2 separate regions of the Homo sapiens genome follow, and region 2 is linked to region 1. The links are contacts of gene promoters, found by promoter capture Hi-C in human tissues and cell types (Jung and others, 2019). All regions are on one chromosome and are shown on one strand. Each heading gives the region's core, a stretch centred on a gene start or on the middle of the fragment in contact. The rest is flanking DNA. Distances are from core to core; before and after follow the strand shown. Region 1 holds the start of PFN4 (profilin family member 4). Region 2 overlaps NCOA1 (nuclear receptor coactivator 1).

Evidence for each region. Contacts are between HindIII fragments. The study calls those that stand out against the background at their distance.
Region 2: a contact is called between a fragment that was not itself captured here and the fragment with the promoter of PFN4 in region 1, in 1 of the 25 tissues and cell types used here (hippocampus).

What each region holds. Positions count from the first base shown.
Region 1 is chr2:24,119,006-24,125,937 of GRCh38, forward strand. PFN4 (profilin family member 4) reads right to left here and starts at 4,329. Exons shown (of 5, transcript NM_199346.3): 1 at 4,113-4,329; 2 at 3,414-3,542; 3 at 2,158-2,295; 4 at 572-677. The coding sequence starts at 3,530. It overlaps FAM228B (family with sequence similarity 228 member B), which reads left to right and starts at 4,464. Exons shown (of 11, transcript NM_001145710.2): 1 at 4,464-4,528; 2 at 5,325-5,455. The coding sequence starts at 5,357. RefSeq lists a silencer at 4,396-4,895 and an enhancer at 4,966-5,215. The HindIII fragment of the contact is 15,112 bases long and covers 1-6,932 here.
Region 2 is chr2:24,711,069-24,718,000 of GRCh38, forward strand. NCOA1 (nuclear receptor coactivator 1) reads left to right here. Exons shown (of 23, transcript NM_003743.5): 14 at 1-43. Among named protein-coding and RNA genes, the nearest start is that of PTRHD1, 79 kb to the right of the region's middle. The HindIII fragment of the contact is 3,280 bases long and covers 2,051-5,330 here.

The DNA of each region.
Region 1 (6,932 bases), core at 3,079-5,578:
TAGTTCTCTATGAGATCTTTATTCAAAAATGTATAGACACGGAGGGGGAATGCAGTATATACCAACAAAGTGGCTGCCTGACTCACAGTAATTCCTTTTCCTGTAAAATGTCTCTTTATATAGGGTAGACCCCCAGCAGCCACATCTCTGCCTTTTTACCCTGCTGTCTCCCCCCTCCCCTATCCTGCCCCACCTACATAGCTGACTGATACAGGGGTAAACCATATGACCTGAAACTTGCCAAATCAGGGTCCTAAGAGAAATTAAGGGGTATTATGGGAGGCTTGGCCATGATATCAGCCAGGAAAGGAAACAGTTTGCTATGAGACAGAACAAAGCTGACTCATTTAGAAGTCAAGACAGAATCCTAGCAGTGTTCCAGTCCCTGAATCTACCTTCCCCATGGCTCAGCTGCACCCTGTCCTTCCAGTGGCTATGTAAATAACCTCAGCATCCTTCCAATAAATTCCTCCTTTCTGCCCTAGCTGGTTTGAGTTGGATCTCTGTTACTCGTAGTCGGAAGACCCAACTAACATAGGGAATGAAGACAGGAACTAGGAGGCCAACTTACCCAGGCTCTCTGTGGCTTCCACACAGATGCTAGGATACATGCCCTCAGTGTAAGTTGCTACCAGAAGATACAGATGGGTCTTCACGACAACCACACCAGTGTTCTCCTGTATAAAGAATATAAGAGAATATTCTGCTCTTGGTTCTAATCACAGGACCAGTGGTCATGCTCCAGCTACGTTTTTCACCATTTCCTGATTTCCATATGTTTGGAATATATATGGAATATACATATTCCGTATATATTTTCCATATGTTTATATATCTGTTTTTGGACTGTCCACTCTTTTCCACCAATTTAGTTGCCTTTCCTCAAAAAGTTTCAGACTGTTATAATAATGGTAGATGGATTTTGAAAAAGTTCTGCAATTGATTATCATATACCCCATCCCAATTAGAACAACTGATGTAGGCCGGGTGCAGTGGCTCCCGCCTGTAATCCCAGCACTTTGGGAGGCCAAGGCAGAAAGATCACCTGAGGTTGGAAGTTTGAGACCAGCCTGGCCAACATGGTGAAACCCCATCTCTACTAAAAATACAAAAATTAGCCAGGCGTGGTGGCAGGCGCCTGTAACCCCAGCTACTCGGTAAGCTGAGGCAGGAGAATCTCTTGAACCCAGGAGGTGGAGGTTGCAGTGAGCCGAGATCGTGCCATTGCACTCCAGCCTGGGCGACAAAAGTGAAACTCGTCTCAAAAAAAAAAACAACAACAAAACAAAACAAAACAAAACAAAACTGATGTAATGGAAAGGTCGTACATTTTGGAATTGGACAGCTCTGGGCTTGAATTCTAGTGCCTCCTTTTCTGCTGCATGAGTAAGGGTTATTTAACCTTGTTAAGCCTCAGTGTCCTCATCTGTAAAATGAGATTATTTAGTTTATAATGTGGATGAAGCAGCATGCCTAACCCATAATATAGGGCATCCAATGAATGATTTTCATCTCTTTCATTCCTTATAAGCAACAGAGAGCTGATTTTTTTTAAAATTTTTTTTTTGAGATGGAATTTCGCTCTTGTTGCCCAAGCCGGAGTGCAATGGCACGATCTCGGCTCACTGCAACCTCTGCCTTCTGGATTCAAGAAATTCTCCTGCCTCAGCCTCCCAAGTAGCTGGGATTACAAGGGCGCACCACACCTGGCTAATTTTCTTGTATTTTTAGTAGAAACAGGGTTTCACCATGTTAGCTAGGCTGGTCTTGAACTCCTGACCTCAGCCTCCCAAAGTGCTGGGATTACAGGTGTGAGCCACTGTGCCTGGCCACTGAGAAATGTTTTAAGCACAGAAATGATTATCTCTTTTTTTTTTTTTTTTAAAGGAGGATGTAGAGTATGAAGGTGGGACTGTATTGGAAAGAGTTCAGGCAAGGCTCAGTTAATAGATTCTGGAATGAACATTTCTCAAAACCAGGCTCTTGATAGGACTTTCTTTCACATATGTCTTCCTGGCACTAGACTGCTATCTCAAGACAATGGCTCAAGACATTAATGGATTTAATCTGTTTTACAGAAAGGATCAGGCAGAGCAAGGAAATTTGGAGGCAAATTCTTTTCTTTTACTCAGCTCTCTTCAAATCTTGAGCACTCACATTTTTGGCATAAAGAGAATATTCATCTGCCCGGACACATCTGTAATCTTTTCCCTTGAAATACAGTCCTTCTCTTCGGGCTTGCAAAGGGTTCTTGGCAAATCCATTCACCAGTGTTCGGACATCACTGGGCGTTACCTGGAGAGGTTACATGGTTAGAGCAGGAGTCAGCCAACTATGGCTGGTGGCCAGCCAAATTTAGCCCACTACCTGTTTTTTATGGCCTGCAAGCTAAGAATGGTTTTCATGTTTTTAAATGGTTGGGGAAAAAAAATCAAAAGAATAACACTTCGTGACACTTACAAATTATATGAAATTCAAACTTCAGTATCCATAAATATAAAATTTTATTGGAACACAGTCACATTCATTCTTTTATGTATGGCTGTTTTTCCTCTACAATTGCAGAGTTGAGTGGTTGTGACAGAGACTCTACGGCCCTGTGCTATAGTTTGAATCTCATGTTGAAATCTGATTCCCAGCGTTTTCGGTGGGGCCTAATGGGAGGTATTTGGATCATGAATAGACTGATGCCCTCCCTGCGAGCTGGGGGAAGCTGTGAGTTTTCACTGTATTTGTTCCAGGAGAGCTGGCTCTTAGAAAGAGCCTGGCACCTCTCCACTTGCTCTCTCTTGCTTCCTCTCCCCCACTGTGATCTCTGCACATGCTGGCTCCCCTTCACCTCTGCCATGAGTGGAAGCAGCCTGAGGCTTTCACAGATGACCAGTCTTCCAGGCAGTAGAACTGTGAGCCAAATAAACCTCTTTTCTTTATAAATTACCCAGCTTCAGGTATTCCTTTATATCAACAGTAAAAAGACTAAGCCTAGAAACCTAAAATATTTATGTAGCTCTTTACAGAAAAAGTTCATTTAAAAGTCATGTCTGGGCTGGGCACGGTGGCTCATGCCTGTAATCCCAGCACTTTGGGAGGCCGAGGCAGGTGGATCACCTGAGGTTAGGAGTTTGAGACTAGCCTGACCAACATGGTAAAACACCATCTCTACTAAAAATACAAAAATTAGCCGGGCCTGGTAGCGCACTCCTGTAATCCCAGCTACTCGGGAGGCTAAGGCTCAAGAATCGCTTGAGAGGCGGAGGTTGCAGTGAGCTGAGATCATGCCATTGCATCCCAGGCTAAGCAACAAGAGTGAAATTCCGTCTCAAAAAAAAAAAAAAGTCATGTCTGCTTCATTTTTTGGAAGAATAGAAATAATAAGTAAATCAAGTCTTAGGTCCAAACTTGTTTTTTCTTACATTGAAACCTGGTGATGCTACACACAAGCTCCGCTCCTGGATTTTGATGAGGGCTGCACTGTCCACATGCTTGGTTCCCAAGAGGGTGTCTAACAATAAGCTCTGCAAATGGCTCATGTTCCCTCAACTCTGAAAGGGAAAGTGCAGTTGAAGCCATTGACTCTGGCTAGCTTTTAAAAGGCATGTGAATACAAATGTCCTTAAGACACTGCAGACAGTTCTAAGATCAGCAAGTGTACTTTGAAAAGGTACAGGGTGAAAACGGTGGTCCATCATTCAGGGCCCACCAGTACCCAAAGAGGAAAACAGAATCATAGAAAAATCACAGCTCACACAGAATAGGTTATGAAGCTGAGTTTGGAAAATCACAGCCTGGTGATTTTCTGGCTATGTCAATGGTTTACATCAGGATTATCTGCGATTTAAAAACAAACATTACACACTGAGAAAAACTCTGTAAAATAAAAAATAAAAACAAAAAACAAAACCCAGCCAGGATGGAGAGCTACCCTGCTAAGTTAAACACGACTAAAAGAGATTATGCGTGGCCATAAACCCACACATTCCCTTCCCGGTGACCTGCATCAGCGCCAGCTATGAACGCTGATCAACATCCCAATGGACTAAAAACACCTTGAAGGCACTTAAACCCACATTTCCCGCACAAGTCCCCAAGCCTTGGACCCCCCTCATCAGGACCTCCGGCACAGGCGCCCGTTTCCCGCCACTGCCTTCCAGTGGTTTGGTCCCCGAGCAGGACCCAAGGCGGGGCAGGGGGTGGTGAGCGGTGAATTCCCTGGCACCGAGGACTCGAGGGAGCGGACGCCACCCCGCTCTGTGGTGCCCGCAAGGACCCGGCGACCAAGGACCCGACCGTCAACGGACGCGGTTGCGGGTGGGTGGCGGCGGCAGGATTGGCCGGGCCACGCGCCGGTCACCGAGAAGCAGCGACTCCAGCCCCTTCCGCAAACCAAGACCCGCCACCTAGAGCCGCCGCCCAATCCCCTTTGGGCCTGAAGCCGTCCTCCGCCGCCCCGGCACCGCCCGCGCGGACTCGCTGTGGAACCCGCGGCGCAGGGGGCGGAGTGCTCGCGCGGCGCTGCGTCCGGGAGACGGTGGGCGCCAACATTCGCGCGTTCCGCAGACGCGGGCGGGCTCCCTTCCAGCCGCAGTCGGACGGCTCCGGGGTCGTCGGGCCGGGCCCGAGTGTGTAGCAGGACGGCCGCGGGCCTGCTGGCCTTGGGAGGGCAGAGAGGTGCCTGTCGCGGCCGGCGACCTCCCCGCCAGGCCGGGCGGTCCCCGCGCACGACGCGCCTGCGCGGGAGGCCCCCGGCCCGGGGCTGGCGTGGAGGCCGCAGGCGCCCGGCCTAGTGGGTGGGAGGAAGGGCCGGGAGTGGGCGCGATGAGCGAGAGCGGGTGCGGACGCCTACGACATCCCCGTCGCACCCGTGCCTCGGGGAGGACTTCGAGCCGCTCAGAGCTCGAAGACTCGCGCAGTATGACCGAAAGCCCCTCCCTGCCTTCTCTAAGCAGCTCAGCCTGTGTTTCTGTGGCCAGAAAGTTGCAGTTCTTCCCACTCGAGGCCACCAAAGTCAGAAAAGTGTTGCAAATGGGACTCCGAGAGGCCAGGCTGAAGCTGCCACACTGGCTGGAATGGGCTGCCTTGGAGGGGGACGTGGGAATCCATTCCAAGGGACGGGGGATTCTTTCAAAGAGCATCTCGCCTGCTTATAAAGGAGGCTGGCTCTGAAGCCGTCATCTGGAGTCTGTAGTGAAGGCCTCTTGTTAGGGAAACTGGATGGTTAGTGTTCAAAATCCATTTTGCGTGTGTGCAAGGACACAGGTGGTATTAAACAGAAGAGAAAATCAGATGACTGTGAAATGTTCAATACTAAATAAGATGATTTTTAGTTTTTCCAGGGGCATTGTTATTTGTGACCACAATGAAAAATGTAGACAGTGATGATCTGGTAACTGGCACACTTCCCAAGCTCAAGAGCTCAAAAGAATGGTTGGAGCCCAAGCCCCTTTGTTTTATGGAGGTATATATCAAATAGTGTGGGATTTGGAGATTTTTTTACTTGGATCGTTGCAGTAGGAAGTGGCTTGTGCTAAATATATTGTTTTTTCTATTGTTTGTTTTTATTTCATTCTGTTTATTATTCCCTTCACTTTACTAACTTTGTATATTCACTTTGCTGTTTTTTTCTAACATCTTAAGGTGGAATCATAGGTCATTGATTATATACCTTTTAAAATGTAACATAGCTATAAGTTTCTCTTGAGGTACTGCCTTAGCTGCATCACCCAAATTTTGATATGATGTATTTATTTATTTATTTATATTTGAGACAGGGTCTTGCTATGTTTCCTCCTGGAATCAAGCCATCCTTCCACTCCCTAGTAGCTGGAAGTATAGGCGCACGCCACCATGTCTGGCTAATTTTTGTATTTTCTGTAGAGATACAAAAAATCTCTACACTGTGTCGCCTAGGCTGGTCCCCAACTCCTGAGCTCAAGCAATCCACCTACCGTGGTGTTCCAAAATGCTGGGATTATAGCTGTGAGCCCTTGCGCCCAGCCAGTTATATTGTTTTTAGATTGTAGTTTCTTTTTTCTAAACAGCTTTATTAAGATGTAATTGATATACAGTAAACTGCATATATTTAAAGTGTGTGTCTGGCACTGTGCCTCATGCCTGTAATCCCAGCACGTTGGGAGGCTGAGGTGGGAGGGTCGCTTGAGCCCAGGAGTTCTATCTAGACCAGGCAGAGCAATATACTGAGACCCTGTCTCCACAAACGAACGAACAATAATAGCCAGGTGTGGTAGCATACACCTATAGTCCCAGCTGCTTGAGAGGCTGAGGCAGGAGGATTGCTTGACCCCAGGAATTTGAGGCTGCAGTGAGCTGTGATTGTGCCACTGCATCCCCACCTGGGTGACAGAATAAGACCCTGTCTCAAATAAAGTGTACAAACTTGGTAAGTTTTGACATGTATACACACGAAAACATCACCACAATCAAGATGGTGGACATATTCAGTACTCCCAAAGCTTCCTTAATATTCTGTTGTAATCCCTCCCTCACATCCCCCCACCACTGCTTTTCTTTCTTTCTCTTTCTTTCATTCTTTCTCTCTCTTTCCTTTTCTTTTTCTTTTCTTTCTTTCGCTCTATCACTCAGCCAGGAAAACACTGGCGTGATCTCGGCTCAATGCAACCTCTACCTCCCGGGTTCAAGTGATCCTCCTACCTCAGCCTCCTGAGTAGCTAGGATTACAGGCCTGCGCCACCACACCTGGCTAATTTTTTTGGATTTTTAGTAGAGACGGGGTTTCACCATGTTGGCCAGGCTGGTCTCAAACTCCTGACCTCAAGTGATCTGCCCGCCTCGGCCTCCCAAAGTGCTGAGATTATAGGTGTGAGCCACTGCGCCCAGCCTGCTTTGCTTTCTGTCACTCTAGTTTGCATTTTAAAAATTGTATACAAATGGAATCTTACAGTATATATTTCTTT
Region 2 (6,932 bases), core at 2,441-4,940, 590 kb after region 1:
TCACTTCAGTCCGCCACTGCCAGACCCACTTCCAGGCTAAATAGTATGTTCTGGGGACAACACCTCATTTTAAACGTTTAGTGATAATGTGGATTAGCATTTTGTCTCTCACCAGTATTACACAGATCCTTTGCTTAAGAGTGAAATATCTTTTTATTAATGCCACTATAAATAATAAAACAGTTATATTTAGGCATGTGAACATCATTCATCATGTGTATTTTAAATTATGACCTCTATCCTTTTGTAATTAATGTTAAGGTGAGCAATTGATGTTAAGGAGAACAATTTTGTCGTCTCACCCAAAACACCCCATAACAGGACTTTCAGAAATACAGTATTGGGTCAGATTGTTTCCAGATATCTTCCTTGAAAACTAATCCTGTGAGTTGCAGAAATAAAAGATTCTGTACTAAAATACACTGGGCAAATGCTACATGTTCCATACATTTCATATTGATGTTTTAATGCCTATTAGCAGTTTTGAGAAGCCTTGTATTAAAGAATGTAGTTTAGATTTCTTTTACCCAACATTTCCCAAACTTTCCTGATTATGGAATTTCTTTTCTCAAGTAATACATGTTATACCACAGAATGAGTTTTCCATGAAGTTGCTTAGGAGACAACTGTGTTAAAATATGTTATTGTTCTAACCCAAGTTAGCATTTTCCTAGTTGAGAGACACTTTGATAGTTTAATACATTAAATTTATGAAGATAAGGCTGTCAGATTTTTTTGCCCATCACATTTTGATGTTGAAAAAACCAGTGGTAAGAATTCCATTGTATGACCTTGAAACTAAAGGAAACTAATCAGCCCACTTTCAAAATTAGTCTGGATTTTCAACGTTAGTTCTATCCCTTTTCTGATGGTATCATATGTGGGACTTCAGTTATTTCAGTCCAACTGGAACTTTTAACTGTCATGACCCAATTACTGATAGTTTGCCAGGATTTCAGACAGCTGCGAAGAATAATCTTGAATCCATCTGTGACATTTTTGGAGGCAGTATTTTAGCTGACCAGAGTATTAGAGGAAGAGTCAGAAGCCTAGATTCAAATCTCACATTCTCCAGTCATTAACAGTCTTACCTCAAGGAAGTACATTTTTTGAACCTTATTCTCTTTATCTGCAATATAAGAATTAGATTAAATGATTTTGAAAGTTTCTTCTAATAGAAGCAGTGAGGCTCTAGACTGGAATGTCAGTCACAATTGAGGAAACAGTAAGATGCAAGGCTGAAAAGAGATAAAATGAAAGTCTGCATATTGATTGATTTGGAGGTCTTTATCTCCTTCCCCATCCAATATGGGAGACTGGAAGAATTTTCTCAGGGGACATTGAATGGGCGGAAAGATGTCTGGATGTGAGTATATAAGTACAAAAGCCATTCTGCTATCTCATCATCCAACAATGAAGGCTCCCAGAAGAGACAAGCCTGGCACTCAGCCCTCCCAGTCCATGTTTAAGAACACTGACTGAACAGACACAGTCAAGAATCATCAGTACTTGGAGGAAACTCTGCAACTTGAAAGGGAGAAAAAGAAATAAACAGAAAAAGTATGCAGTGGAAATATATAATGAATGCATAAACCAAAAAAGAAAAAAACTACTAGAAATTTTAGAAAGATAAAAATGTATTACCCCTGAAAATATGGAAAGGGAAAAAAAGGGACAAAGAACAGAAAAAACTCTTGGAAATTAGGTATCCAACTTTTTTTTTTAATGAGGGAAATGTAAGATGATACAGCTGAGAAAAGCTTCCAGAAAGAACAAAAAGATGCTCCCAGAAAGACAAATGGGAAGTAGGGAAGAAAAAGTTAAGGAAATTACAAGGTCCACCTCAGAGGGCCAGTAATGATTAAGAATTACACAAACAGGCCAGGTGCGGTGGCTCACGCCTGTAATCGTGCACTTTGGGAGGCTGAGGCAAGCGGATCACCTGAGGTCAGGAGTTCAAGACCAGCTTGATCAACATGGTGAAACCCTGTCTCTACCAAAAATATACAAAAATTAGCTGGGCATGGTGGCAGGCACCTGTAATCCCAGCTACTTGGGAGGCTGAGGCAGGAGAATCACCTGAACCCAGGAGGCAGAGGTTGCAGTCAGCTGAGATCGTGCCATTGCACTCCAGCCTGGGCGACAAGAGCAAAACTCTATCTCAAAAATAATTAATTAATTAATTAATTTTAAAAATTAAATTTAATTTAAAAAAATAAAAGAATTACACAAACAAGGGTGGGAAACATCAAAAAATATAAGAGAATTTTCTGATTCCCCAGATTACAGTGTTTCAACAAGTACCCAACACAAATGGAAAAAAAAAGTACTTGTACCAAAGCTTGTCATCATATCATTCTGGAACATGAGAGATAAAGAAAAGATTCTAAAACCTTTCAGAGAGAAGTTAATTCCATACAGTGAATCAGGAATTTTCAAAGGTAATATTGGAACTAGAAGACATTTATGATTTGAGAAAAAGGACTTCTACTTTCAACTATGACAGCAATAATTGGCACTGGTCTAGTCCTCCCACTGTAAATAACGGGAAAAAGAGCAAATACATTAAACAATTCTTGTAAGCCAATAGATAATAGGCAGTGTGAGACTGTGATCTCTCTGAGAAGGAAGCAAGTCAGGTGAGCTCTACAATCATCTCAGCTTTTTTCTTGGAGATGTTTACCAAACCAAGTACAGGTAGGAGGAACCCAAAATAAGCACGGATATTTTACTAAACTCCGAAAATAGTGATAGGAGTTCAGTGACAGTGGGGCAGCTAGAACTTGCTGAACAAAGTACCCGAGAAGAGAAGGATATGTAGAAAATAGCAACAAAAATCTGAATCAGGGTTCTTTTCTATCCTTGGCTGAATACTACACTGTGCATGTATTCAACGATACTCCATCAGGTGGGGCAAAGAACAGTTTGTGAAGGAAGAACAACTATCAGGAAGGAGTGAGCTGAACAACTACCAGAACTCACACAAGATTGGAAGATAATCAAGTCCTGACCAATCAGAGTCGGTAGACCTTCTTGAACATCTGGGACATTTAGTGGAAAATGGCCTCACTTTAAGAGTGGATTTACCCTAGACCTGCTTTGACATCTTAAAAACAAACCTCAAAAGGATCAAGCTTATGTACAAGTAAATTAACTGTCTGAAAGAACACTATTCAATAGTTTTTAAAGAAGACACCAAAATTCAGACATTCAGCAGCATTATATTCATAATTTCCAACATATAATAAAAAAAATTAAGACACATGATGTAGCAAGAAACTGTGACCCATACCCAAACAAAGTCAGTTAATAGATCCAGAAATGACAGAGATGATAGAAGTAATAGAAAAAGATTTGAAAATAGCTATTCTAAATATGTTGAAGAACTTAAGGGACAACATGAACATAATGAGGGAAGAGATATAAACTACAAAAAAAAAGAGCCAAATAGAGCTGGTAGAGCTGAAAAATACAGTATTTAAAATGAAAAATTTGTTGGAGGAGCCTACCAGCAGATTAGACACTGCAGGAAAAAAAGAGCAATAAACATGACATAGTATTAGAAACTACTCAAATTAGAGGAGAAAAAGAATACCACAAAAGTATTGAAAGACCTCAGTCACCTGTGGAACAATACAAAGCAGTCTAGTATACACATAATATATAAATAATACATAATTATGGAAGAAGGGGGAGCAGGTGAAATTTTTGAAAAAACAGCCAAAATATTTACAAATTTGTGGAAATTTGTAAACCTACAAATCCAAGAGTTTAATGAATCCCAAGCAAAATAAACACAAAGAAAACTACTATAAGCCATGTCATAATCAAATTGCTGAAACAAAAATCTTAAAACCAATCAAAGAAAAATGACACATTATGTCAGATAAACAAGAAAAAACTTTCTATACTTAGTATCATTCAAAATGACACAGAGATGAAAAAAGATAGAAAATGATATAAGATGAACAAAGATAAGAAAACAACTAACTTTCTGTATCCAGTATCATTCAGAAATGCAGGTGAAATAAAGATGTTTTCAAACAAACCACCCTGAGAAAATTTGTCACCAGCAGATTACACTATTGTTCAAGCTAAAATAAAATGAATCCAGATGGAAACTCTAACCTACAGAAAATAATAAGAGAGCCAGATAAGTAAAGGTATGAATAAATGGAAAATTCTTTTTTCTCATTTGTTAGTTTCTTTAAATGAAAAATAACTGTTTAAAGCAAAAATAATAACAGTGAATTATATATGTAATATGTAGAAGAAAAATGTATGACAGTAATAGTACCAAAAATGGGGTAGAATAAATGAGACAATACTCTTTTCTACAAAATAGTATAATATTTGAGGCTAGAGGCTAAAGTTAAAAATGCATTTTTTTAACAGAAAAATATTCTATAAGTGTCCTGCATGTAGAAAATCCTAAAGAAGTGAGAGGAAAAGCTACTTGAACTAAATGAACTTAGCAAAGTCACAATATGTGTACTCAGTATTTTAAAAAATCAATTGTATTTCTGTATATCAGTTACATACAATTGGATAATGATATAGAAAAAGCAATTTACAAAATACATAAAATATTAAGACATAAATTTTAGATGGAATAACATGTGCATTACTCTACACTGAAAACTACTTTGCTGAGAGAAATTAGAGGGGGGCCAAATAAATGGAGAGGGATACCATTTTCATGGATTGTAAGACACAATTTTGTCAAGATATCAGTTATTCCAAAATCAACCCATGTAAATTTAATGTAATCCCAATAACAATCCCAGCAGGCGGCCGGGCGCAGTGGCTCACGCCTGTAATCCCAGCACTTTGGGAGGCCGAGGCAGGCGGATCACAAGGTCAGGAGATCGAGACCATCCTGGTTAACATGGTGAAACCCCGTCTCTACTAAAAAAATACAAAAAATTAGCCGGGCGTGGTGGCAGGTGCCTGTAGTCCTAGCTACTCGGGAGGCTGAGGCAGGAGAATGGTGTGAACCCAGGAGGCGGAGATTGCAGTGAGCCGAGATTGCGCCACTGCACTCCAGCCTGGGTGACAGAGTGAGACTCCGTCTCAAAAAAAAAAAAAAAAAAAAATCTGAGCAGGCATTTTAGTAAAATTTGACAAGCTTTTTCTAAAGTGTATATGAGAATGCAAAGGTCCTGAAATAACAAAAACCACTTAAAAAAAAAAAAAAGAAAACTTGGGAGTATTTATACTGCTTGATTTTAATACTTCTATAAAGCACCAGTCATCAAGATGGTGTGGTTTTGGAATAAAAATAGACATATAGATCAATGCAAAATAATGGAGAGTCCAGAAACAGACCCACATTTATATGGCGAATTGACATTCAACAAAGACACCAAGGTAATTAAACAAAGAATAGTCATTTCAATACATGGTGATATAACAACTGAACATCTATGTAGAAAAAAATGAACCTCAACCTCTCTCCTCATCCCATACACAAAAAAATGAACTTATTTTGAGTTGATCATAGGCTTAAATATAAAAGTTAAAACTATAAAGCTTTTCAACAAAAAAAAGTCATTGAGATAGACACATTTTTGATAGGACACAAAAAGTGCTAATCATGAAAGAAAAAGATTGATACATTAGACTTCGTTAAATGTTAAATCTTCTGCTCTTTAAAGACCACCTCTTGAAAGAAAATGAATCAATAATCAATAACCTTTCAAAACAGAAATCACTAGGCTAAACCCAGATGGGTTCACTTGTAATTCTACCAAACATTTAAGGAAGAAATTATATTCTCTCTAATCTCTTCCAAAAAATAGAAGCAAAGAAAATATTTCCTAACTCATATTGTAAAACACATATCTGATATAAAGGAGTGATACCCAAAATAAACAAAGAACTCTTAAAATGAAACAATGAGAAAACAAGCAACTCAATTTAAAAATGGGCAAAAGATCTGAACAGACACCTCACCAAAGAAGATATACAGATGGTAAATAAGCATATGAAATGATGCCCAACTCATATGTCATTAGAAAATTGCAAATTAAAACAACAATATGCTGGCGAGGATGTAGAGCAACAGGAACTCTCGTTGCTGGTGAGAATACAAAATGGTACAGCCACTTTGGAAGACATTTTGGCAGTTTCTTACAAAACTAAACATACTCTTACCATATGATCCAGCAATCACACTCCTTGATATTTACCCAAATGAGTTGAAAACTTATGTTCACACAAAAACCTGCACATGAATGTTTATGGCAGCTTTATCCATAATTGCCAAAACTTGGAAGCGATCAAGCCATGAAAAGACATTGCTGAGAAGAAGCCAATCTGAAAAGGCTACACATCCTGTATAATTCCAGCCGTATTCTGGAAAAGGCAAAGCTGTGGAGACAGTCAAAAGATCAGGAGTTGCCAGGGGTTTGTTGTCAGTGGTTGCCAAAGGCAAGGATGAATAAGGAGAACACAGGGGATTTTATGTGATAAGTATCATACCTAAAAATCCCCTGTGTTCATATCATGTATAAATAAATGTACATAGACATATACACATATATATATATAAATCATGTGTATGCAATGACATGTATCTATCCTGTCATTCTGTATTGGTCAAAATATCAAAATCCACAGAATGTACAACACAAAGAGTGAACTCTAATGTAAACTGTGGACTTTAGTTAATACTAATGTGTCAATATTGGCTTATCAGTTCTAACAAATGTACCACACTAATGCAATAGTAGGAAAAACTGTCCAATCTAAACACTGGGCAAAGGATTTTAAAAGATATTTCACAAAGGAAGATATGAAAATGGCAAATCAGCATGTGAAAAGATGGTTAATATCTTTTTTTTTTTTTTTTTGAGTCTCTCTGTTGCCTAGGCTGGAGTGCAATGGCATGATTGCCGCTCGCTACAACCTCTGCCTCTCAAGTTCAAGCA